Linked DNA regions of Homo sapiens: regions 2, 3, 4, 5, 6 and 7 are each linked to region 1. Evidence: promoter capture Hi-C in 16 types of primary human blood cells and fetal thymus (Javierre and others, 2016). All regions are on one chromosome and are shown on one strand. Each heading gives the region's core, a stretch centred on a gene start or on the middle of the fragment in contact. The rest is flanking DNA. Distances are from core to core; before and after follow the strand shown. Region 1 holds the start of NOD1 (nucleotide binding oligomerization domain containing 1). Region 2 overlaps LOC124901607 (a long non-coding RNA gene). Region 3 overlaps LOC105375220 (a long non-coding RNA gene). Region 4 overlaps LOC124901607 (a long non-coding RNA gene). Region 5 overlaps ZNRF2 (zinc and ring finger 2). Region 6 overlaps ZNRF2 (zinc and ring finger 2). Region 7 overlaps LOC105375220 (a long non-coding RNA gene).

The links. Contacts are between HindIII fragments. The CHiCAGO score rates a contact against its expected background, and 5 or more counts as called.
Region 2: a contact is called between a fragment that was not itself captured here and the fragment with the promoter of NOD1 in region 1, in 12 of 17 cell types (total CD4 T cells, naive CD4 T cells, activated CD4 T cells and 9 more). The highest score is 19.9, in total CD4 T cells.
Region 3: a contact is called between a fragment that was not itself captured here and the fragment with the promoter of NOD1 in region 1, in 1 of 17 cell types (non-activated CD4 T cells). The highest score is 5.0, in non-activated CD4 T cells.
Region 4: a contact is called between a fragment that was not itself captured here and the fragment with the promoter of NOD1 in region 1, in 6 of 17 cell types (total B cells, naive CD4 T cells, naive B cells and 3 more). The highest score is 8.4, in total B cells.
Region 5: a fragment that was not itself captured here is called in contact with the fragment with the promoter of NOD1 in region 1 in 10 of 17 cell types (total B cells, naive CD4 T cells, naive CD8 T cells and 7 more); the score reaches 15.3 in total B cells.
Region 6: a contact is called between a fragment that was not itself captured here and the fragment with the promoter of NOD1 in region 1, in 9 of 17 cell types (naive CD4 T cells, activated CD4 T cells, total B cells and 6 more). The highest score is 13.5, in naive CD4 T cells.
Region 7: a fragment that was not itself captured here is called in contact with the fragment with the promoter of NOD1 in region 1 in 1 of 17 cell types (non-activated CD4 T cells); the score reaches 6.2 in non-activated CD4 T cells.

Annotation. Positions count from the first base shown.
Region 1 is chr7:30,476,502-30,480,127 of GRCh38, forward strand. It overlaps NOD1 (nucleotide binding oligomerization domain containing 1), which reads right to left and starts at 2,283. Exons shown (of 14, transcript NM_006092.4): 1 at 2,105-2,283. RefSeq lists an enhancer at 1,779-2,523 and a silencer at 2,172-2,411. The HindIII fragment of the contact is 7,069 bases long and covers 1-2,728 here.
Region 2 is chr7:30,271,551-30,275,119 of GRCh38, forward strand. All of the region lies in intron 2 of LOC124901607 (a long non-coding RNA gene), which reads left to right. The region is part of intron 1 of LOC105375218 (a long non-coding RNA gene); the gene reads right to left. Among named protein-coding and RNA genes, the nearest start is that of ZNRF2, 11 kb to the right of the region's middle. The HindIII fragment of the contact is 3,265 bases long and covers 686-3,569 here.
Region 3 is chr7:30,700,279-30,704,017 of GRCh38, forward strand. All of the region lies in intron 1 of LOC105375220 (a long non-coding RNA gene), which reads left to right. Among named protein-coding and RNA genes, the nearest start is that of CRHR2, 20 kb to the left of the region's middle. The HindIII fragment of the contact is 1,440 bases long and covers 846-2,285 here.
Region 4 is chr7:30,233,581-30,237,331 of GRCh38, forward strand. All of the region lies in intron 2 of LOC124901607 (a long non-coding RNA gene), which reads left to right. Among named protein-coding and RNA genes, the nearest start is that of ZNRF2, 49 kb to the right of the region's middle. The HindIII fragment of the contact is 2,999 bases long and covers 1-2,923 here.
Region 5 is chr7:30,308,306-30,311,935 of GRCh38, forward strand. All of the region lies in intron 1 of ZNRF2 (zinc and ring finger 2), which reads left to right. Among named protein-coding and RNA genes, the nearest start is that of MIR550B1, 20 kb to the left of the region's middle. The HindIII fragment of the contact is 2,465 bases long and covers 890-3,354 here.
Region 6 is chr7:30,325,404-30,328,761 of GRCh38, forward strand. The region is part of intron 2 of ZNRF2 (zinc and ring finger 2); the gene reads left to right. Among named protein-coding and RNA genes, the nearest start is that of MIR550B1, 37 kb to the left of the region's middle. The HindIII fragment of the contact is 1,675 bases long and covers 593-2,267 here.
Region 7 is chr7:30,718,259-30,722,036 of GRCh38, forward strand. The region is part of intron 1 of LOC105375220 (a long non-coding RNA gene); the gene reads left to right. It overlaps LOC105375219 (a long non-coding RNA gene), which reads right to left. Exons shown (of 4, transcript XR_927156.3): 2 at 2,409-2,610; 3 at 1,576-1,666. Among named protein-coding and RNA genes, the nearest start is that of INMT, 32 kb to the right of the region's middle. The HindIII fragment of the contact is 2,793 bases long and covers 210-3,002 here.

The DNA of each region.
Region 1 (3,626 bases), core at 1,033-3,532:
AGAGTCAGGAGCAAAACAGGAACACCAAGGGTATGGTCTGAGGATGTTGTCAGCAGGGAGCAACGTGCGTGTGTGTGCACATACACTAATTCTGAGACACTGTGCACAGCCCAGCTTTCTTGGAAAGCCATTTAAAAGATATATATGTGGCAACAGAGAGGAGGAAGTCTCAAGATTAAGAACAGCTTTTGAGTGTGTGTGTGTCAAAATATTCATTCCTATCACATGCAGTAAAACTGTATTCCAGAGCCATTAATACGCCCTGGGGGACTGAGGGGATTTGCAGCCTAAGATTTCAGACTTAAAGCCCGCTAAGGCCCTGAGCGGGGCAGCAGGGCAGGAGAAGGAATGGAGCGTTGAAGGGAACATTTTATAGACATTCTCCCTCATAGTGGCTGTACTAAGTAAACAATTAACGGGCACAAACTGCCACTCCAGTGTCTAATAACTACCTCTGCCAGAGCACCTGCCAGCGCCACCACCTTCCAGGTGTGTGATGCACATCATCTCGCTGAACTATGCTAGCCTCAGGAGAGGGTTGCTCTTTATTTTACAGGTGGGAAAACAGGGGCTTGGAGAGGTCAAGGAACTTGCCCAAAGTCACAGCATAGAAGTGACAGAATCCGAGTTTTGACCCAGATTTGATGGGTTCCAAAGCGTGAACTTATTTCTCCACTCCACAAAAATAAAACCTACTCTTCTTACAATATTTGAAAGAGCCCTCTTCTACCACTCTGCTGTTTGTTTTAAACACAGCTTGCTTATCTGTCTGGCATATTCGGTAGAAGTCTGTACTTTGTCAATGCCTGGTTTGCCTGGATTTCAGCTACCTGGCCCCTGGCATCTAAGCCTGGGTGAGAACAGGGAATCCACTCCTCTCTAAGATGCATCGTGGAGTTACTCTTTTACTCTTCCCTGAAAGTGATAGTTCAATCTTCAACAGGGGCTTTGAGGGAGAACAAACTCGACCCTTTGGCAAGCACGACTTCTGGCTTCACCGTTTTTTTGTTTTTTGTTTGTTTGTTTGTTTTTGACGGAGTTTTGCTCTTGTTGCCCAGGCTGGAGCGCAACAGGGCGATCTCGGCTCACTGCAACCTCTGCCTCCCGGGTTCAAGCAATTCTCCTGCTTCAGCCTCCCGAGTAGCTGGGATTACAGGCATGCGCCACCACGCCCGGTTAATTTTTTTTTTTTTTTTTTTTAGTAGAGACGGTTTCACCATGTTGGGCCAGGCTGGTCTCGAACTCTCGACCTCAGGTGATCCGCCTGCCTTGGCCTCCCAAAGTGCTGGGATTACAGGCGTGAGCCACCGCGCCCGGCCCTGGCTTCACCCTTAAAGCAGAAAGGCCAGAAGTCATCAAGGCCATGGGTTTACTAGCTTAGCTTCCCCAGACTTAATTTCAAACACCAACAACCGAAATGTTTCCTAGAATGCAGAGCTAATGAGACATCAACCTCTGTCATTTCCTATGTTTTTCACAATGTGCCAAAACAACTGCACACATTGGAGGCGTTTTTGAATGTGATATTCAGGCGACCTTGCCAAGCATTGTCTCATTTCCTTACTTTGTGGAGCATGAAACCCAAGGGAAGTTCTCACCCTCTCTCCAGGACCAAGCAGGACACTGGGAGCTGCTGTCCCGTCTGCAGGCGGGACTCCATGAAGGCCCCTGTCTGCCCTTCCAGCCTTTGCCACAAACCCTCGAACGCTGGCTGCACACTGGAATCACTTGGGGAGCTTTTAAAAGATACGGAGGCCTGGGTCTGACTCCGTGAGATTCTGATGGAATTGATCTAGGGTGCAGCCTGGATATCTGGATTTTAAAAGCTCCCCAGGTGGTTCTAAGCTGCTGGCACGATTGAGAACCCCTGCGTTCGACCACAGTGGGATAAACGATTCCGCTGACTGTGAAGTTCATCCCTCTCAACTTTCGCTACATGCTTCAAACTCGCGGGTTTCTCCGCTTGGTTCCACCCAGAGCTCCTCCAGAGCCGCGCTGCGTTCCGCCCGCACGCAAATCCCGCCTCCCTGCGCCTCCTCACTCGCAGCGCCCAGGACCTCAGAAAGGGCCTGCCCCGCGCGAATCCCCAGTCGCTGGGACTTACTTGGCCACCAGGTTTACAGACTTCGCAGCCGCTGAGAGCTAGAGAAGAGCCCGGAGAGCGCCATGGTCCGGGGACGCCGGGGCCGGGAAGCGCCGTGGCCCGGGAGGACGCTGCTCCCGCAGTAGCGCGAGGGAGGGGCAGGACCGGGGCGGCTGCCTCGCGGGCCCGGAACGGGAACTGGCTGCGACTACAGCCGCAGCCGCGCCCCTCTGTTGGCGCGCCCAAGAGCCTGCCGGCTGCTGGGAGAGGCCGCCGAAGGGCGGGGGCGGTCAAGGCAGGGTCCCACGGTGCTGCCATTCGCCCGGGTCTGGCGCGGGGGGGCGAGAGAAGCTGCGCGCAGAGGGACGCCCGGTGCGAGAGGGTGAGCCCCTGGCCACCGCGCAGGGCCGAGTGGACAGGCCCAAGTTCGCCCAGAGGTGACACACTTGGGAATTTGTGGTGCCATCGTGCCAGGTCCCTCCTCGTAAAAGTGCCTACCCAGCGCCTGCAACCAGAGCCAAAGCCTGGACATGATAGGGAAACTCTTGTTAAAACGCGACACGTGGTCCTGATGAAATGGAGGTTAACGTAATCAAATTTAAATTACACTGCATACATTTCAATTTATACTTTTTAAAAAATGTAAGCTTTTCTTCCTATCCTTAAATTTGTTCTTGGCAGTGTACATTTTATGTTCTATGCATATGCTCTAATAGGTTGTAAAAGAGTTTTAACATGCTAATAAATGTCCCCAATAAAATAGTTTTAAAACGTTTTGAATGGGGATCGTGTCCATAAGGGATATCATGCTACAGAAAGTTGTCACTTACTCACACTGAAGAAGTACATTCAATCATATAGCCACTGATGCTTGTGAGTATTAAAATTCCCATCAGAGGCTGCCCTCTGAGAAACAGAAAGTATGTTCTTAAATCAAAAGTGAAAGTGCAAACTAAAGTTGATAGGATCAAATGTGCCAACTTGTGTCAGGCCTCTGAGCCCAAGCCTGCATGTATACATCCAGATGGCCTGAAGCAACTGAGGAATCACAAAGGTAGTGAAAATGGCTGGTTCCTGCCTTAACTGATGACATTACCTTGTGAAATTCCTTCTCCTGGCTCAGAAGCTCCCCCACTGAGCACTTTGTAGACCTTCCACCCCCCCGGCCCCCGCCTTGCCCACCAGAGAACAACCCCCTTTGACTGTAATTTTCCACTACCCACACAAATCCTATAAAGCTACCACACCCCTAACTCCCTTTGCTGACTCTTTTTTTCGTACTCGGCCCACCTGCACCCAGGTGAAATAAACAGCTTTATTGCTCACGCAAAGCCTTTTGGTGGTCTCTTCACACGGACACGTGTGACATTTGGTGCCGAAGACCCGGGACAGGAGGACTCCTTCAGGAGACCAGTCCCCTGTCCTCACCCTCACTCTGTGAGGAGATCCACCTATGACCTCGGGTCCTCAGACCAAACAGCCCAAGGAACATCTCACCAATTTCAAATCGGGTAAGCGGTCTTTTCACTGTCTTCTCCAGCCT
Region 2 (3,569 bases), core at 1,068-3,567, 200 kb before region 1:
ATCATATGCCTGGTCACTACCCTTGCTCTCCTCCAGGTCTGTCTGACTTTGCTATCTCAGCTCTTTTTATGTAGCCAGAGAATCCATCAGATGGCTCTTCCCTCCTTTCTCAAGATGTGGTCAGCAGACCATCAGCATCAACATCACCTGGAAGCACATTAGAAAGAATCTTGTGCCCCTACTCCAGGTCTAGGGAGGCAGTATCTGCATTTTCACAAGATCCCCAGGACCTGGTCTACATCAGTCACTTTCAATCTCATCTGCATATTGGACTCCCCTTGCGGAGCTTTAAAGAATCTGATGCTGGTTGGGCATGGTAGCTCATGACTGTAATCCCAGCACTTTGGGAGGCCAGGCCAGGGAATCATTTGAGACCAGCAGTTTGAGACTGGTCTGGGCAACATGGCAAAACCTTATCTCTACTAAAAATACAAAAATTAGCTGGGCGTGGTGGCATACACCTGAAGTCCCAGCTACTCGGGAGGCTGAGGCAGGAGAATCGCTTGAACGTGGGAGGCAGAGGTTGCAGCGAGTTGAGATTGTACCACTGTACCCCAGCCTGGGGTACAGAGCGAGACTCCTTCCCCACACCCCCTGCCAAAAAAAAGAATCTGATGCCTGGACACCACTGACAGTGCTTCTGCTTTAATTGTCCAGGTACGGTTTGGGTATTGGGCTTTTTAAAAGCTTCCCAGGGGATTCTGATGTGAAGCCAGGTTGTGAACCACTCCCTTAAGCAAATACACTGTTGCTTGCCTCCTTCCTTCACTCATTCAAGTGCACTCTGGCACAATTTGCTGGGGAGATGGACGATTACAATATAGTATTATAAGTAGTATGTTAAGCACCATCCCAAAGGCCAGGGGAGCCCAGAGGAAGGCCTGAGGCCAAGTCAGATTGCCTGGAGATACCAGATGGGACCTCAGGCTCAAGGATAAAGAGGAGTTCTTGGATTTGTTGAGGGCTATGTTGAGCAGGGTGGGAGAAGGGAGAGTTCTATGCTCATTACCAAAGTGAAATTCATAGAATTTTAAGGTGTAATAGATTATAGAGATTGTTGAATGAATCTAATGGTTTTCAAACTTTTTTTTTCTTTTTTTTTTGAGACGGAGTCTCATTCTGTCGCCCAGGCTGGAGTGCAGTGGCACCATCTCAGCTCACTGCAACCCGTCTCCTGGGTTCAAGAAACTCTCCTGTCTCAGCCTCCCGAGTAGCTGAGATTACAGGTGTGTACCACCATGCCTGGCTAATTTTTGTATTGTTAGTAGAGGCGGGGTTTCACCAGGTGGGCCAGGCTGGTCTTGAACTCCTGACCTCAGGTGATCTGCCTGCCTCGGCCTCCCAAAGTGCTGGGATTACAGGTGTGAGCCACCGTACACAGCCAACTTTTTTAAAAACTATAACCTATATTAGGAGAAATATTCTATGTCTCAGCTCAGAATATATATAAAGTTTCATAAAACAATGTTTAGCTTCACTAAATTCCATGCACTTTGATATTTTTATTTATTTATTTTGTATAGATGACGCCTTACTATGTTGGCCAGGTTGGTCTCCAACTTTTGGCCTTGAGCCATCCTCCCACCTCAGCCTCCCAAAGCACTGGAATTATAAGCATGAGCCATTGCATCCAGCCTACTTTGATATTTTCTAGTCTTTCAATACTATGCTCTTTTAGAAAAAAAAAATACTGGTCATGTTTAGCTGGATTCATTTTCCACTACACTAACGGGTCACAGTGGGCAGTTTGAAAGACCTGGACCTTATCCCTTCAATGTTTCCTTGAGGAAACGATGACCAAGAATAGCTACATGGCATGGCCTGAAAGAGTAAAGAAAAGTGTGTCTGAATTACAGTGTGAAGGACTGGTGTTAGAGACGAAAAAAACCTGTATGGCATTGGTTGGTGGATACTTCAGAGGGACTTGCCTTCCGGAGAAATCCTACTCATTTTTCTGGGAAGTAAAGATAACAGTCCTGTAGAGAGGGCAAGATGATAAATTAATAAATGAGGTATCTGGGTCATTTCTAGGCCCACTGGATATATCAGTATTACTGAGTGAGAATTGTCAGTTTAGCTGGGGTTTGGGCCCTCTTAGAACCACCTGGGGCCTTTGTCTAGTACATATATGACTTCCAGCCATTCTGATATGCACCCTCCCTCTTCAAGAGCCTAAGTTTCTGCTGATAACAAGTCTTACTGAGGCTCGAGCTGATGGGGGTATATCCTATCTCTCCAGTATGTTGGGGCAGGCAGGGAAAACAAAGGTGAGAACTGCTGATCTCTTGAGCAACAGTTTCCAACATTTTAGATTTCACAGGTCAGTAAAAATTCAAAAACAGTTTAGGAATCAACATCAGGGTGCCAATATTTCTTTGTCCCAAAAAACGAAATCTACATTTAAAAAGGAAGAAACAAAAAACCAAATACTCCCCAAATCTATGGCCATCTACAACTATCATAGGGTAGGAAGGATCTAATCTTAGACTAAAGATAGTCTTGTGCATGAAATACATTTAACTTTTTATGGATAACAAAGCTACTGCACTGTCCTAATTTTTCTTATTTCACTGTGAGCACCTTATTACAGACTGGTGCTGGTCTGTAGACCAGTGCCTGGAATTACTGCTCCAACAGATATAAACTTCTTCCTGAGGCTATTCATTCTTCCAATGCGGAAATTTGTATTCTTTATGTCTTGACTGACATGGAAGACAATTATTTTAAATCATAAAAATATCCATTAAGTTGTCTGGAAAATTATACACAAGCCATTAGCTAGATTACATTAAATCTAAAAAAAAGACAGTTCTTATTATTTAGTTTCTCAAGGCATCACCATTTCAAATTTGGCCATAGATGGCTATCATTCTAGTATTGAGCACTGAAGGTAACAGGCACTTGCTTCCTTCTTTCCTCTGCATGATGACTGAGTTTGCCAAAGTCCTAGAGAAGCTGGCCTCACTTTCCAAAACTCTCGTTCCTCTCAAGTTCATATGTGTCAAGCTAAGTAAATTTTCTGCATGGTGGGACTTATTTATTTATTTTTAATTGTTCATCCTGTTTGTGAGCTCCAGAAGAAACTTTTTTTTGCCACTGAAATTCATGAGTTATTATCAAATAAACATATATGAACATTTAATTCAGTATAAAAATCCTGCTGTATTAAAATGAAATCCTAATTGTAGCCGTCATTCTCCTTATTAATATTGGTCTAGACAGTATTTTTCACTTTTTCACCCCATCATTAGCAGTTGGGGGAAGTGGTGTTAAGAAACAGAGCAAGATTTATTATTAGTATGCCACCTGTTAAAAACTGTACTGGAGAAACCAGCTACGTGTACCTCTAAACGTACTGAAATGCTATGTTTTACCAGAGAAATTCTAGGTCATTTCTAATGCCTCCCCAGAATGTCAATGAATCACTATTTCAATTGATTACAAACTCTAAAAAGTAAAAACTCATCATTTTCAAAACCTTTGAATTTGCTGTTTGTACAGGTCAGGTCTGGAGTGCCTTCCTAAAAGTTATTTATTTTCCCCTTTTTCGCTTGCTTCACAGAAGCAAC
Region 3 (3,739 bases), core at 316-2,815, 220 kb after region 1:
TCCATCCAGCCTGCAGAGAAGGGGTTAATGCCTTCTATCGGCTGCCAGCATTGCCCGGGGCTGTAGCTCCCCAGGTGGGAGAGAGGAATTGAGACAGGCAGGAGGGGCCTAGGCTGTGGTCCCTGCTTCAGCACAGGGTTGGGCTGCCCTGGGTCTCAGCTGAACCAGCACTGCCTAACACCTATCTGAGGAGCTTTTAACAGGTGCTAATGCCTACTGGGATGACTGAGATGGGAGTGTGGATGCTGGGTTAGATAGTACTGTATCAATGCTACATCTGCTGATTCTGATACTGTACTGTGGGTAGGTAAGAGAATGTTCTCATTCTTGGAAAATACACATTTAGGATTAAAGGGGCACCATGTTTCCAACATACTTTCAAATGGTTCAGAAATAAACTCAGATAGATACATAGATAGAACAAGAGAGCAGATGGGGCAAAATGTAAATTGTTGGTAAATCTGGAAAAGGGGTATATGGATATGCTTTGGATCATTCTTCCAACTTTTCTGTACGTTTGAAATTCTATCAAAATAAAATGCTTTCAAAAAAAAAAAAAAAAAACCCAACCGACAGCAAATACAGCCATGGCAGGGCTCACCCAGAGATTCCAATGAAGTAGCTTGGGATGGGGCCCAGGTGTCTGTCTGTATGGGGCCCAGGTTCCATTTCAGGAAATGGTTAGGGATCCTGATATCAGGTGGCTGAGCAGTGCTGTTCTTGGCGGGGACAGGTTCAACCTGGGGCTGGGTCAGGGCTCATGAGGTGAGGTCTGTTCTTCCAGAGCCTCAGAAGCCTCCTTAGGAGCTGTTCCTGACAGGTGGGCCTGGTGCAGGGGGTTTAAAAGCTTAAGCCACAGTTGCACCTTGCTTGTTGTTAGGATCTGAGGGGAAAGCATGTGAGGAATGTGATTAGTGGGGCACCAAACTTTCTCCTGGAGATGCAGGCATGGTGGAGAGAGACCTTGGAAAACTCAGTCCCGATTTAAGTAACTCAGACACTCTGTGCTCCTTCCGGTCTCCCTATCTAAGACATGGGACACTTTTCTGTCCTTGAGTGCTTCCTCCCCACCCTCAGCCCCTTCCTCCAGGCAGCCTTCCTGGCTGTTCCAGGTCCCACCTCCCTCTCCTGTGAAATCTCACAGGTCTGAGTCTGAAGCTCTGCCTCGCTGGTGTGGACTGTTCTCCAAGCTCTGGGAGGATAAGGATGAATGTGGATGTGCCCCAACCTTCCTCTCCTTGTTTTTTCTTCTCCCTTCCCTCCTATTTTGTACAGAGCTTAGTCTCAGTGGTACAGGGAAATCTTTATAGGAAAAATGGAGGAAGAATTGATCGGATTCCTCATTTATTTGAAGGTGGCAGGGTGAAAACCCTATCCCAAGTCCTGGGGCAGGATTTGGCTTTCCCGGACCCAGCCAGATGGGCTTGGTCAGAGAGGGCTCCTTGTAGAAGGTGGATACCTCCTACAAAACATCATAAGCTGGGAAGGACTTTGAGAGCTGGGCAGACTCTGAAAGATGGCTGGGACAGTTCCCTTCAGCAGCCTTCAGCTGTAGGTCTCCAGGGGCCAGCCTAATAGCAGGCACCAAGAGCAGAGGCCAGCCTCAGAGTGTGCAGGGACATGGGAAGGAGAGGCATGGGGAACCCATGAGACCTGGCATCCATAACTGATGGGAGGTGGGACATGGCACAGGTGCTGGGCCAGCTCAGGGGAGTGAGAGGGCACTTCCTGGGAAGGTACTGCAGGAGCACCTTGAAGGGTTTAAGCAGATGGAGGAATGGGAGACCCTTACTGCAAATGGGGAAGTCTCCTGAGCAGAAGCAGGGAGCAAGGTCTCATGCAGCTGGGAGCCTGGCTGGGTGGGGCAAGCTGGAGGGAAGCCAGATTCTCTGCAGCTTTAGGAGGGTCCGGGTAGCAGTAGGCACTGTGGTGCTTAGCCCAGGTTCCTCTCTTGGGGGGGTGTTCTGGGTGCCTGTCTTAGCTTGGGCTGCTGTAGCAGAGTACCATACCCTGGGTGGCCTTAACAACAGACATTGATTTCTCTCTATTCTGGAGGCGGTGATATCCAAGATCAGGGTGCCAGCATGGTCAGGTTCTGATGAGGGCCCTCTCTTGGGTCTGTAGGTGGCACCTTCTTGCTGTTTCCTCACATGGCAGAGATGTTGGACTCTTGTCTCTTCCTCTTCTTCTAAAGGCACTAATTCCATCATGGGGATTCTGCCCTCATGACCTCACCTAACCCTAAACCCTAATTACCTCCCAAATAGCATCACATCAAGGGTTAAAGCTTCAACTTGGGAATCTGGGGGGTGGGGGCACACAGATTCAATCCATGTCAGTGCCATTCCCCTGGCTTTCCTTGTGCTTCTAAATAGGTCCCTTTTCACAACCTAGAACTTTCTTAGAACTCTCCTGGGGCAATGAGAACCACTTTTTGCACAAAGTACCCAGGAATTTATATCCTCCCAACCCCCTAAGGGCATCCTTAGCATTGAGTGATTGGTGTTCCTTTGCCTGGAGGTGGAAGGAACTCTGAAGTGTAATGGACATTCTAGAACTCCTTGTGGAACCAGGCAGAGGCCGGGACTCTGCCTGGGATCTTTTCCATTCTCCGTCCTGCCTTGCCTCGTCTCTTACCAGTCGCTCCTGGGAACATTTTCTTTACACATCCCTGCACAGGAATCCTCACCTTTGGGGAACCCCATCTAAGGGAGCCTAAATGGTCAAAGAAGTCTGTCTGGACTTGATCCCTCTAAATGGAAGGTGTTAACAACAAACAACGACAATAAAAAAACAAAAAACTTGAGCCTGCAGGGTTTCCTCTAGACAGCCTTTCACTTTCTGAGGCTGCTGGTGGTAGAATAAACCTTGCCTAGCAACGTGATCTGAGCAGGTTAATAACAACCTGCTCGTTTATAAGCTTTGTGTTACTAAGGGTAGATTCAGTGTGGAAAGGAGGCTTTATGTTTTTGAAAATGCCTTCATGGGCCTTTTTGGTGATGAAAGACAAACTCAGCATGATCTAAAAGAGAAGTGTGTGGAAAGAGACCTAACTAGCTTTGTAAAGCAAAGCTATTGAAATGACTAGATTGAGCATGGCATTCCAAGATGGAGACAGTGTAGAAGGGCTAGGAGCTGGGCTCTAGAAAGGAGGAGGAAAAAGAAGAGGAGACACGGACTGGCACAGGCCAGGTCCAAGCATGGATGAACCAGGAGCTTCCCTATGGTGGTGAATTGTCAATGAATGTTATGCCTCATCTTCAGAAAAGTCTACAATACACAACAGCCTGTGCCAGCAGTGAAGGAGGAGGTGCTGGGGCATGTTGGATACAGGGTTAGGAGAGGTGAGAGGTTGCAGGAAGCGGGAGCTGAACTGGACATTTCTTTGTTTTGTCCCAAGATGGTACTGTCCTTCTGAGAAATGCTCCATCCTCTACTCCAACGCTGCTCAGCCTTTTTTTTCCCATTATTATTTACAAGGAGGCTTTTTAGATATTTATTTTCCTAATTGCCTTCCCTCCTACCATGAAATTTTAATACCACAGACATACTGTATATGTGTCATGTACTTGCCTCTTTGGAGGGCCACAGACCATTCTCATATCAGATGGTTCTGCCTCCTAAGAACGGATTTTGTTCCCTTGGGAGCAAAGAACAGGCATGCTCTTTTCCAGCCACGTGATCAGGCTAGCAGCCAGCCACTGTGGATTGGCCAAATGCTATTCACCAAGCTGGACAA
Region 4 (3,751 bases), core at 174-2,673, 240 kb before region 1:
GGCAGCTTGGTGATAGGCATCTACTTTGACCCAATTCCTCTTCTAGGAATTTATCCTAAGGAGGAAATTGGACAAGCATACAAAGACAGAGGTGTCGGGATGCACACTAGTGAAAAATTGAAGATTGGAGACAACAAAATGGCTGTCAAGACATTATTTAATACATGTTAAATAAATCATACAACGTCCCCACAATAGGATAATGAACATTCATTCAAATGGTGATATAGATCCCTATTTCTTGCTTGGAAAGGATATAAATAGAAAATTCAACAAAGCTATTTTTATTTTGGAAAATAATAGATGACAAAGAATGAGAGAGGAAGAAAAGTATGAGAAGGTGAAGATCGAGAAGAGGAAACACCATTATCCTCTCTACAACTAATTGTTGCTGGCAGGACTTGGAGCTGCAATCTGAGAATTCTGAATTTATTTATTTATCTTTTTTTTTGTCACTCATGGGAAGAGAAAATTCTGCCCTTAGAATGAATGTAATGTGCATTTTCATCAGCTTGAGGAACACTCTGCAGGAGTTAGGCAGGTCTACTTGTGGAGAAGGCCTTTGGCTGGGACTGCTGTTCACAGGCCTGGCCCATCTTTCTGTGCCCTTTGCCAGGCTCCTGCCTCTCTGGGAGCTCTGCTCTTTCCTCTGGGAAGGGAAACAGTCTGAAAAACGATTCATACAAATGCACAAGTGATTCATCGAGTTATGGGAGCCCTGTCAATGTAGTTATATTAAAAAAGAACCATTTAGGAAAACTCCTGGCCTGCTGGAGGGAGACTAAATTTGTCTAACTATTGAAAGTTAATTTAGATTTGTACCAAAACTCTTAGAATTTTACAAAAATTTTAATGTAGCAATTCCACTTTGAAGAATTTATTCCAAGGAAGCAATCATAAATATAAAAAACATTTAACTACATAAAGATTCATCATAGCAACTGTTTATAAGAGTGAAAATTAAGATCTGCCTGCATGTCCAGCAATAAGGGATTGGATAAATTACATTAGCTCCATTCAATGGAATACATGATATCCCCTAAAAATATTGTTGTGGGAATATACATATTGTTATGGCAAAATTTTTACAACATGATATTGACTGAAAAAGTAGGTACCCAAACACATAATCCTAATTTTTTTAAAGTATAAAAATATCAAAATGTTAAAAATATTTGTCCCTGAATTATATGTGATTATTTTCTTCTGCTTATTGAATATGTCACTTTTGAAATAAGAAATGTTAATAAAATTTTACTTTTTTATTTTTTCTTTTTATTTATTTTCCTTTTTTATTTTATTTTATTTTTGTTATTATACTTTAAGTTTTAGGGTACATGTGCACAATGTGCAGGTTAGTTACATATGTATATATGTGCCATGTTGGTGTGCTGCACCCAGTAACTTGTCATTTAACATTAGGTATATCTCCTAATGCTATCCCTCCCCCCTCCCCCCACCTCACAAGAGGCCCCAGTGTGTGATGTTCCCCTCCCTGTGTCCATGTGTTCTCATTGTTCAATTCTCACCTATGAGTGAGAACATGCAGTGTTTGGTTTTTGGTCCTTGTGATAGTTTGCTGAGAATGATGGTTTCCAGCTTCATCCATGTCCCTACAAAGGACATGAACTCATCATTTTTTATGGCTGCATAGTATTCCGTGGTGTATATGTGCCACATTTTCTTAATCCAGTCTATCATTGTTGGACATTTGGGTTGGTGCCAAGTCTTTGCTATTGTGAATAGTGCCGCAATAAACATACGTGTGCATGTATCTTTATAGCAGCATGATTTATAATCCTTTGGGTATATACCCAGTAATGGGATGGCTGGGTCAAATGGTATTTCTAGTTCTAGATCCCTGAGGAATCGCCACACTGACTTCCACAATGTTTGAACTAGTTTATAGTCCCACCAACAGTGTAAAAGTGTTCCTATTTCTCCACATCCTCTCCAGCACCTGTTGTTTCCTGACTTTTTAATGATCGCCAGTCTAACTGGTGTGAGATGGTATCTCATTGTGGTTTTGATTTGCATTTCTCTGATGGCCAGTGATGATGAGCATTTTTTCATGTGTCTTTTGGCTGCATAAATGTCTTCTTTTGAGAAGTGTCTGTTCATATCCTTCACCCACTTTTTAATGGGATTGTTTGTTTTTTTCTTATTAATTTGTTGGAGTTCATTGTAGATTCTGGATATTAACCCTTTGTCAGATGAGTAGATTGCGAAAATTTTCTCCCATTTTGTAGGTTGCCTGTTCACTCAGATGGTAGTTTCTTTTGCTGTGCAGAAGCTCCTTAGTTTAATTAGATCCCATTTGTCAATTTTGGCTTTTGTTGCCATTGTTTTTTGTGTTTTAGACATGAAGTCCTTGCCCATGCCTATGTCCTGAATGGTGTTGCCTAGGTTTTCTTCTAGGGTTTTTATGGTTTTAGGTCTAACGTTTAAGTCTTTAATCCATCTTGAATTAATTTTTGTATAAAGTGTAAGGAAGGGATCCAGTTTCAGCTTTCTACATATGGCTAGCCAGTTTTCCCAGCACCATTTATTAAATAGTGAATCATTTCCCCATTTCTTGTTTTTGTCAGGTTTGTCAAAGATCAGATGGTTGTAGATATGTGGCATTTTTTCTGAGGGCTCTGTTCTGTTCCATTGGAATTTTACTTTTTTAAAGACACAGGAACCCAAAGTATACCTATAGCATATGACATCATCCTATACTGTTAACTGCACAAGGAGATGTATTTAATACTACATCTGCTTTAGTATATCATTGTGATTCCGGCACCTAGCACAGTGCCTGACATGTAGAAGTTCTTCACAAAGAACAAAGTGGCAGTAACAGGAAGCCCAAATGGAGGAGAAACACTCAACAAACTCCGTACACAACTGTCTGACCTCCTTCATGTCAATTTGATAGTTAAGCTTCATGGGATGAGACCCATTCACTTTTGAATCCCTCACGGTGCCTTGCCCATAGTAGGGACAGCTCAATAAATGTTTCATAAAACTATAAATGATGGTTTCTCTTCTCTCTCCTGGAATCATTTCTACAGACTTTCCTGCGTTTGATACATGCATGCCCTGGTGACAGATCATGTGCTAGAACTGGGATAATAGCCATTGTCATAGGACGTTATGTAGTTGGGATTATGTTGGTCATAAAGCAACAGAAAGAAAACAAGTAAGAATGGCTTAAAAGAATTGAAAAGCTATTTCTTTCTAATGTTCCAGAAATCTAGAAGCAGGCAACCCATGATTGGAATGGAGCTCCATGGTGTCAGGGACCCAGGTTTCTTCTTTTTGCTCTGCCACAAGTGGCTTCCATTCCCAAGGTCACCTCATGGTTCAAAATGGCACCTGGAGCTCTGAGCACTAGTCATTACATGAACATTCCAGCCATCAAGAAGGAGGAAGAGGAGAATGAAGGCATGCCTCCCTCTTCAGAAGTTTCATGTACCACCTCCACTTATGTCCCATTGGCCAGAACTTTGTCAAAAAAGCCTGAAAGGCATAGATTTTATTATGGGGTGCCTTGTTCCCAGCTAATGTTTAGGAATCTCTCCCTATGGAAGAAGGGTAGAACTGACGTTGGGAAACAACTGGCAGCCTCTGCCATTGACCTGTCCTCAGCCATCCCATCACTAGCCAATATGAGTTTCATTAAGCATGTAGCATCTACTCTGATGATGTAGGGAAGGTTACCATGACAGTGACTTACAATTAACCAGGTGTTTGGGACCAGTGCCAA
Region 5 (3,630 bases), core at 872-3,371, 170 kb before region 1:
CATTCCATTGTTGGGTGTTTGTTTCCATTTTGCCATTATGAACATTGCTACTGTGAATTTTTTGTTAATATGTATTCTGGTGCATATGTGCACAGATTTCTTTAGGACAGTATTACTTAAAATATGGTCCTTGAACGAGCACCATTGGTGGTGTCATCTGTGTGAGCTTGGGAGAAATGCAAATCTGTGGGCTCCACCCTCAATCAGAATCTCTGGGGATGGGGTCTAGGAAACCGAAACAAGCTCTCCACATGAATGACTCTTAAGGACATTAAAATTTGAGAACCACTGCTCTGGGATATATACCTAGAAGTGGAATTGCTGAGTCATAGGTTATGTATACCTTCAGCTTAATAGTGTTTTCCACTGTGGTTATGTTGCTTTTTAGTTACACTGTTGTTTGAGAGTTTGTATTTCTTTACATCCTCTGTAACAATTAGTATTGTCAATATTTTATTTTTTTAAATTAGAATTTGAGTATTTTCTGAGTTACTTTTAATTAGAATTGAATTTTGGCTTTTCAGATTTACTGAAAAAATTGACTTAGATTTACTACAGACTTTCTAAAAATATTATTAGAAATCATAGAAGTAGAGGCAAACAGTACAATGAACTAAAAACTTCATATCTTCAGCATCCACATTCAGTGTTCATTATATTTTGCAGTATTGGCTTCATTTATCTCTTTTCTCTGAATTATTTTAAAGACAGGTCCTAAATATGATGTCTTCACTCCTGTATAAATAAATTCATATATAGAATATGTACCATTTTCTTTACATGATGACATTGTCTTTATTACTGAGGGCCTTTTTACTTTAAAAAGTTAGAATAGGCTTCGTATTAAAACATGTAAAAATTCTAAAATAATGGCAAAGCAGAGTATATAAGCTTTTATTTGGATATCATGAGTGGGACTTTGAACATTCTCTGAACTCTTCTAATGTATTTAGTCAAATAGTTATACTGAATATTTTCTGTTTCAACAATCAGAGTCAAATTTAGATTTCTTAAAGGGATTATTTAACCATTATTTAGGATAAGAATGTGTTTAGAGTGCTCAGAAATTTATCACTTCTCTGATAAAACTCAGCATGTATAATGATGATGTCCTAGTTAAAGACTGGAGTAGACAGCTAAAAGACACCCTGACTCTTTACTCTTAGAAGCAACTCTTTGAAAACCCAGACATACAAACTTTCACATCTGTCAACCTTTTGCTGTGGTATTGTGCAGAGTTCACTATCCTGAATCAGCACATGTCCGTCTAAACTTCCAATAGAATTAAGAGCATTGGAAGTCAGTGTTTATAGTGAATTAAGCAGTGAGTATTTTTTGAATGTGTGTACTATGTTTGGTAATTGTTGGATAAGAAGGAAAGTACAGGAAACTAACCTGTTATTAAGCAGTACAGAAAGGTACCCGGTAATTTTTGTTTTGCATTGTTGTGATTCAGTTAAATGCTAAATTTTGCTGATCAGGAAAGTATAGATATGTAGCATGTAATATATTTTAAAATGTTATGTAATTTATTAAAAATTTGTAAAAAGTTTTAGGGTATGGAAGATAAATGAGGCTGGAGTTGGAAGAAAACAAGATACATGGCTTTGTATATGAATAAAAAGTTGGTATTTGTTTATGTGTATTTTAAACCAGGGAGTGATCAGGTCTGGTTGGTGTTTTGAAGATAGCCTGTGACAACAGTTTGGGGAAGGGTGAGGTCAAGAGCAGATGCATAGAGAGGTTACTGCCATAGTCCAGGAAAAAATAACAGTAGCTACGTTGTGAGGGTGGTGTAGATGTCTAAAGAATTGGTTGAATCTGACAGATACTCAGGAGGTAAAATCTACCAGGTGGGTGATGGCTTGAGAATAAACAGGTGTGGCAGCAGGAAAACAGTGGTAACACTGGCCTGACTGGAACATCTTCATTATTCCTTAGCCCTTTGGTTAGACTAAACTTTTTAATGCAACTTACTGGCAGCTTACAGATGAGTTTTTGTCATAACGAAACTTTTTCAGAATGGTTTTCTTTCCTCTTTTGAAACAAATATTTGGATATTTTGAACAGTTCTTAAAGACTTAATCCAGGGGTTGGCAAATGTCTAGTAAAGGGCCAGATAGTAAATATTTCAGGCTTTGCAGATCTTTTGGTCTCTGTTCCCTCTTTTTGTAGTTTGGGTAAGCCATAGAGACAATACATAAATGAATGTGTGTGGCCACGTTCAATAAAAATTGGTTAGTGGGCACTGAAATTTGAATTTCCTATAATTTTCACATGCCATAGCATTTTCTTTTTTAAAAAATTTTTATTCAGCCATTAAAAAATGTAAAAAGTTCTTGACTCAAGGGCTGTACAAAAATTGACAGTAGGCCACAGTTGGCCTGCAGACCTATGTGGGGTAAACGCACCTGATAGCCATTTTCTTAAGCATACCTTGAGGATGACCCTGTGTGGCATACAGGACTGAATGTGAGTTCCAAGCTAGGGAATCTGAGAGTGGCTAATTAGGAGATTCGTTCCTTGTCTAAGGAGAAACATCTGAGCCCCTGTCCTGTCCTGTCCTGTCCTGTCCTGTCTTGTCCTGTCCTGTGGAACATGAGCTGTACAGGGGATCGAGGTCCCAAGTTTGGGGTTGAAAGAAGGTTGACAGGTGGAGGTTGTTAGTGGGAGGATGCTAACTGAAAATGCTTTATAAACTACATGCCTTTTCCAAGCTGTTGTGGTTCTTCTGTCCAGCCTGCCACCCCTTGACTGTGTGTAAGGTGATTCTTCTGACCAGTCTACTGCTGCGGTACTCTCTGCGCTGTATGTAAGCCTCCAGTAAAACCCCGTGTTTTGTTTGCTGGCTCTGGGTCTTGTTTTTGGCCTCTTGAACTTGGTGCCATTCCCCTTGGAGTCAATAGGGGTCCGGCACAAGAACCTGCACTTTACCAACCCCAGAATTTTACCCCGAGTGTAATTTCTTTACGAGTAACTTTTAAGATAGATAGTAAATAGGCTGTAGGATGTTAATTCCTTTCATTCCTAAAGAGTCATAAATGCTTAAGTCTGTAATGCTATATTTGATTCTTCCATATGTGAATTTGGGGGATGTAGAAACGAACTACCAGCAAACCCAATATAGCTAAGGAAGTATATAATGCAGAGTGAATTTCATGAAGAGCAGTATCTTTAAGAAGGTAACTAACACATACCAATGAAAAGTGGTTTCCATAGGTGAGCCCCAATGGGAAAGAAAGTTAATGACTTTTGTCAGACTAACTGCAGATGTGTTAAGAAAGTTGCGCTGGGTTCTAGGGTAGTTGTAGGAAACTTGGCTTAAATACTTAGGAGTTGGCATGCTACCTGCTAAGCTTGAAAATCCTTGTAGAACCAGCCCTTCAGTTCTGAATTAATTTTTGACATAATTCTTAAGGATTATATTATGTATGCGTTGTTTTAGAAAATACTGGTAACACTGAGTCCAATTATTTGAGTGCAAACAGTAGTCGGCAAAATTTTATCTACGTAAACGTTACTGATTACAGTCAGGTGCCCAACTGCTATACTTTAAATTAGATTTTAGTTGTGATAGTAATCTGTTAATGTATATTTAGCCTTCCTTGTTACCTGTTGATTTGCCATGGT
Region 6 (3,358 bases), core at 180-2,679, 150 kb before region 1:
ATGAACAGAAATGGAGCTTACAGCCTACTAATAGTAATAGTCACTGATTTCTTTGAGCTAAGAATTATTGGTTAAATAAAAAGGTTCTATGAAAAACTTAGTAGATATAGCAGCACTTATCTGAGCTTTCTCCTCAGGTAACAAAAATGTTGGGAGGGGTAGAATTTAACATTGAAATGAGCATATTACTTTTGGTAGTGTTTTGCAAGTTGATCTAAGAATCAGTCTCTCAATTCTTCCCTTTCCTTCACTTTTTCTAGTATGGTGGTGCTTCAGCCACCCTATTACAGGGTTGACAATAGAGCACTTTTTGCCATTCATTTGCTGATGAAATGTGAAAGTGGTTTTAAGCAGTTACTTGGCATAATAAATGTATTTGTTGATTATATCCTAACCTTTTTGCATTATGAAATTGAATTGGCTACTTTGCATTATCTACTTCAAGTTTAGTTATTTAAGAAATAGAAAGTGTTCTCATTCAAAATTTGTGACTAAAAGTATATGGGTTTGTTTTTCATACCTGCTCCACTATCTTATATTCTATAATTGTTTATGTTTAATATGAGTGCCTTTAAATATCCATAAATCTTAAAGCTTCTGGCTTTCAATTTGAAAATCACAAATATATTTGACCATATAATAATATATTTACACACAGTCTTAGTATTCTGTATGTTTACTTTTTGTGTAATATATCTAGAATACAGTCTTCTTGTGTATTGTGATATTTAACAATTTTTTTAACTTTTAAGTTGAGGGGTACATGTGCAGGTTTGTTATATAGGTAAACTTGTGTCATGGGGGTTTGTTCTACAGATATTTTGTTACTCAGGTATTAAGCCTAGTACTCATTAGTTATTTTTTCTGATCCTCTCCTTCCTCCTACTCTCCACCCTCTGGTAGGCTCCAATGTGTATTGTTCCCCTCTTTGTGTCCATGTGCTCTCATCATTTAGCTCCCACTTACAAGTGAGAACGTGCGGAATTTGCTTTTCTGTTCCTGTGTGAGTTTGCTGAGGATAATGGCCTCCAGCTCCATCCATGTTTCCACAGAGGACATGATCTTCTTTTTTATGGCTGTGTAGTATTCACACGGTATATATGGACCCACATTTTCTTTATCCAGTCTATCATTTGATGGGCATTTAGGTTGATTCCATGTCTTTGCTCTTGTGAACAGTGCTGCAGTGAACATATGCATGCATGTGTCTTATAACACAAGGATTTATATTCCTTTAGGTGTATACCCAGTAGTGGGATTGATGGGTCAAATGGTATTTCTGTTTTTAGGTCTTTGAGGAATTGCCATACTGTCTTCCACAATGGTTGAACTAATTTACACTCCCACCAACAGTGTGTTAAGTGTTCCTTTTTCTCTGCAGCCTCTCCAACATGTATTTTTTTTTGACTTTTTAATAATACGCATTCTGACGCTTGAAATGGTATCTCCTTGTGGTTTTGATTTGCATTTCTCTAATGATCAGTGATGTTGAGCTTTTTTTCATATGATTCTTGGCCACATTTATGTCTTCTTTTGAAAAGTGTTCATCTCCTTTGCACATTTTTTCATGGGGTTGTTTGCTTTTTTCTTGTAAATTTGTTTAAGTTCCTTATATATGCTGGATATTAAACCTTTGTCAGATGCTTCGTTTGCAAAAATTTTCTCCCATTCTGTAGGTTGTCTGTTCACTTTGTTGATAGTTTCCTTTGCTGTGCAGAAGCTCTTTAGTTTAATTAGATCCCATTTGTCAATTTTTGGTTTTGTTGCAATTGCTTTTGGTGCCTTTGTCATGAAATCTTTGCCTGTTCTTATGTCTATAATGGTATTGCATAAGTTGTCTTCCAGGGTTTTTATAGTTTTGGATTTTACATTTAAGTCTTTAATTCATCTGGACTTAATTTTTGTATGTGGTTTAAGGAGGTTGGCGTGGGGTAGGGGTCCAGTTTCAATCTTCTGCATATGGCTAGCTAGTTATCCCAGCACCATTTATTGAATAGGGAATCCTTTCCCCATTGCTTGTTTTTGGTCAGGTTTGGATATTTGACAGTTCTTAATTTCCTGATTTAACTATGCCTAAGTCATTAAACTGTTCTGCTAGATCACTTGTTTGGTGTCTTAAGAACTAATATATAACCTTCTGCTTGGGGATACTATAACAACCAAATATTTCGAATTTTAAATATTTAACAGTATTTCAATCTAGAAATTAATAAATTTCATGCAATAAGTAAATAAACTTGTAGGCATTCTTAAAGTTGCTGACTGAAAGCTTTAAAAAATAAAAATATATATATTTTTGTTTTTAGAGTCAGGATCTTGCTGTGTTGCCCGGGCTGGAGCTCAGTGGCTATCTATAGGCACAGTCATGGCACACGACAGCCTCAAACTCCTGGGCACAAGTGATCCTCCTACCTCAGCCTCCTAAGTAGCTAGGACTACAGGTGCATGCCACCATGCCTGGCTTTTATTTTTTATTTTGTAGAGATAAAAAATTCAAAGTATGTATTAATTGTATAAACATTCACAGCAAGAAGCAAATACAGCTTCTTAATAAAAACCGTGTATAGTTTTTGAGGTTTTAAAACTAGCTCTTGGACAGTGGCCAGTTATGAGTAAGTGAAGGAGAAAGGAGCTTTGCCTGGACTGATTTGGAGGGTTACAGAGAGGTGGCAGGTTAATAATGTACTTTCCTATCATAGGCAAGGGGAATTCTAATGCCACCTGGTTTTAAAGTCAGACCCCCCCCAAAATGTCTGTCACAGGTGATGAGTCCAAATGGAAATTGGCTCCTTTAATACCTCATAAGCAAACCATCTAGGATTATTATAAAGTAGAACAAGGTAAAGCCAGAGAATCTCTAAAACTGAATCTTTTTAGTCAACTGGATTCCTCACAATTTTATATTTGAATTCCTACATGTTGATTCCATAGAGAGATACATCAGATACATTGGGCCTCTGAATTGTGTTAGTGCTCAAACAAGAACATTTTTTTCAGCATACTGTTCATTTAACTTACACTTTTGCAGCCTTTTCCAAAGTAGCTAGATCTGAAATTTTGAAATTTATTTGTTAAGTGAATGTTAACTGTCTATAAACATTCATAGTTATAACACAAGAATAGTGGGGCTTGTTTTCTTCAGACTGGATATATTTATATAGATAAGCTCCTGAATTGGATGAGTTCCAGAAATTCAAATATAAGTTGATGATTTAGAGTTTCAGACTCTTTGTCACAGAGATGATATTTGAAATATTGGTTTTTCAGACTAGCTCACCAAAACCTTCTTATTTTTTTAAATGCACAATATATCTGAACACCCACATCCTGGTACCTGAAGAAGAAATTGGCTGACTAG
Region 7 (3,778 bases), core at 356-2,855, 240 kb after region 1:
TGCCAATTTTTTCCCAATCTTTTAGATCTGAAGTTCCCTGTTCTGGAAACCATGGGCAGAATTGTTCTATTGTTTGAAATAGCATAATTAGATTTTCTGTAGAAGTTTTAACTCCCCCTCTTCCTGAGAGAATTTTAATGAAGCTGAGATAAGAGGCATATTTACTTTCAGTTTGCCCCATTGTTACCCTGGGTACCTCCAAGCACACAAGCTTACCACAAGGCTGACCATAGACATACTCGGGAATCTCTCCTTGGCTGTCCTCAATGCTCACGTTCTTAGCGTACCTTCACCCTAGAGAAAGGCACCCATGTTGGGCGGCAGATGAAGGGGTGGCCTGCCCCTCCACACCTGTGGGTATATCTCGTCAGGTGGGATGAGAGACTGAGAAAAGAAATGAGACACAGAGACAAAGTATAGAGAAACAACAGCGGGTCCAGGAGACTGGCACTCAGCATACCAAGGACCTGCACGAGTCTCTGAGTTCCCTCAGTTTTTATTGATTATTATTTTCACTATCTCAGCAAGAGGAATGCAGTAGGAAAGCAGGGCGATAATAGGGAGAAGGTCAGCAAGAAAACATGTGAGCAAAAGAATCTGTGTCATAATTAAGTTCAAGGGGAGGTACTATGCCTGGATGTGCACGTAGGCCAGATTTATGTTTCTCTCCACCCAAACATCTCAGTGGAGTAAAGAATAACAAAGCAGCATTGCTGCCAACATGTCTCACCTCCCTCCATAGGGTGGTTTTTCTCCTATCTCAGAATTGAACAAATGTATAATGGGGTTTTATACCAAGACATTCAGTTCCCAGGGGCAGGCAGGAGACAGTGGCCTTCCTCTATCTCAACTGCAAGAGGCTTTCCTCTTTTACTAATCCACCTCAGCACAGACCCTTTACAGGTGTCGGGCTGGGGGACGGTCAGGTCTTTCTCATCCCACGAGGCCATATTTCAGACTATCACATGGGGAGAAACCTTGGACAATACCCGGCTTTCCAGGGCAGAGTTCCCTGTGGCTTTCTGCAGTGCACTGTGCCCCTGATTTATCAAGACTTGAGAATGGCGATGACTTTTATGAAGCATACTCTTTGTAAACATTTTGTTAACAAGTCACATCCTGCACAGCTGTAGATCCCTTAAACCTTGATTCCACGCAACATATGTTTTTGTGAGCTCAAGGTTGGGGCAAAGAGGTTGGGGCAAAGTTACAGATTAACAGCATCTCAGGGCAAAGCAATTGTTCAAGGTACAGGTCAAAATGGAGCTTCTTATGTCTTCCCTTTCTTCATAGACACGGTAACAGTCTGATCTCTCTTTCTCTTCCCTACACCATCCATCCATCATCCATCCATCCATCCATCCATCCGTTCATCCATCATCCATCCATCCATCATTCATGCATCCATTCATCCATCCATCCATCCATCCATCCATCCATCCATCCATCATTCATCCATCCATCCATTCATCCATCCATCCATCCATCCATCCATCCATCCATCCATTTACTCTTCCTTTCCTCCATTTCTCCCTCCCTCCCTCCCTCTCTGTATCTATTCATGCATCAACTCACCCAACTATTTAGCATTCATTGAGGTTTCCTATGTACTCAGACCATGCTGGACCAGGGGTCCTCATCTGTTCCCTGTTGTTATTTTCTTATCCTGTAAAGGAGGGAAGAAGAAACTGAAGAGGAACTTCAGATTCCACCCCAGCTCTATCCTACCTAGCCCTGTGACCTCTCTGGGCCTCAGCCTCTCTGTCTTCAGGAGGGCTTCGTCTTGTAGTTTTCAGTCCACTCTGATGTTTCCTGGCTATGGGGACTGCTTATTCGCGGCAGGGGAGCCCTGCCTGCGTGCTGTTCCTGCTACCTGGATGTGGGGTCTCAGGAGAACCCTGGCTGCATACGTGCCTCAGCCTCCTTCTGGAGACCAGGTGGGAGGTCTGCCCTTAGTGTGGGACACCATGAGCTTGCCCTTCCTTTTGTGTGAGCTCAGTGCTGTAGGAACCAGGCCTGGTGTGGTAAGAAATTTCATTTCCACCCTCTACCTCCATCCCTGCCTGGATAGCTCAGCCCTGCCCAGAGCCTGTGTGGCTATGGAGCTGCTCACCTAGGCAGAGGTGAGACCTGGGAGGGAGTAGGGATGGCCTCCAGCCAAAGTTGAGGCCTGCTTACTGGGGACAGGATGATAGAGCCCAGCTCACTGCCCTGCCCTGCCTTTAAAGTCCTGCTCACATTTTACCTCCTTGGAGAAGTCTGATATGAGACAGTTGGAAGGGTAAGGAAGGATTATGCATGCATGCACACACACGGGCATGTATGCGTGTGTGCACACATACAGAGATATACAGACAGATGGGACACACACAAGCAAACACACCCACACTTCCTCGGGCAGGGCATACCTGCTCGCTCAGCCAGTGTCTCTGAATCAGGCCATGTTGTTTGTCTTTCCTTGCCCATCCCTTCTGCTTGTCCTTCTTCTCTGGGCTGGTCTGGGTTCTGTCATCTCTCCTCTGCTCGAAAACAATCTCTTAGGCCTCTGGGCATCCATTGTGATAGGCAGAAGAATGGTTCCTGAAGAGGTCCACATCCTAATCCCAGAACCTGTGAACATTAGGTCACATGGCAAAGGGAAATTAAGGTTCACATGCAATTAAGATTTCAGTCTTAGTCTGTGTGTACTGCTGTAACAAAATACCTGAGACTGGATAACTTGTAAAGGACAGACATTTATTTCGTACAGTTCTGGAGGTTGGAAGTCTAAGATCAAGGCACAGGCTGGTTCACTGTCTCTGCCAGAAGCCCAGTCTCTGCTTCTAAGATGGTGCCTTGTTGCTGTGTCCTCTGGAGGAGACATACCCTGAGTGCTCCCATGGCAGAGAAGCAAAGGGCTTAAGCTAGTTTCCTCCAGCCCTTTTACAAGGCACGAATCTATGACTGAATCACTGTCCAAAAGGCCCCATCTCCCTCTCCCAATATCACCACCATGGGGATTAAGCTTTAACACATGAATTTTTGGAGAAGACACATTTAAACCACAGCAGTTACTAATCAGCTGACTTGAGATGGGGTGATTATCCTGGATTATCCAGATGGACCCATTGTAATCACAAGAATACTTACAAGTAGAAGAGGGGGCAGGAGAATGAGAAGCAGAGAGACGGCAGTGTGGGAAAGACTTGGGGCAGTGTTGCTGGCTTTGATGCAGGAAGGGGCCATGAGGCAAGGAATGCAAGCAGATTCTACAGGCTGGAAAAGCCAAGGAAGCAGTTTGTCCCCTAGAACCTCCAGAAGGATTGCAGCCCTGCTGACACCTTGATTTTAGCTCCATCAAACCCATTTTGGACATCTGATTGTTAGAGTGGTGAGAGAATACATTTGTGGGTTTAAGCCATTAAGTTCATGGTGATTTGTTACAACAGCAATCAGAAATGAATACATTCATCCATTTAGCTGGTCTTTCTCTCACTTGACACTCTGACTTGTGTTACAGTTTCCTGTGACTGGCTGCAGAGACATTATTGTCCTGTTAGTTGACGACTTGCAAAACCATACACAATGGCTCTGACTGACTGTGGGACCCTGGAAATGCCCCCTTTGCTCTCTTGTCCTCATCCCTCCATCTCTGCAGTTGGGGCTGGGTTAAGGGCCCTTCAGCTTCAACATCCTGGGTCTTGGGGTTTTCTATAAACTAGGCATGAGTTCCACTAGTATGTTGGAGGAACGGAACCGGGAGCCACCAGAGTGACAGGTCAGCCTGGGGTCTGCCTCT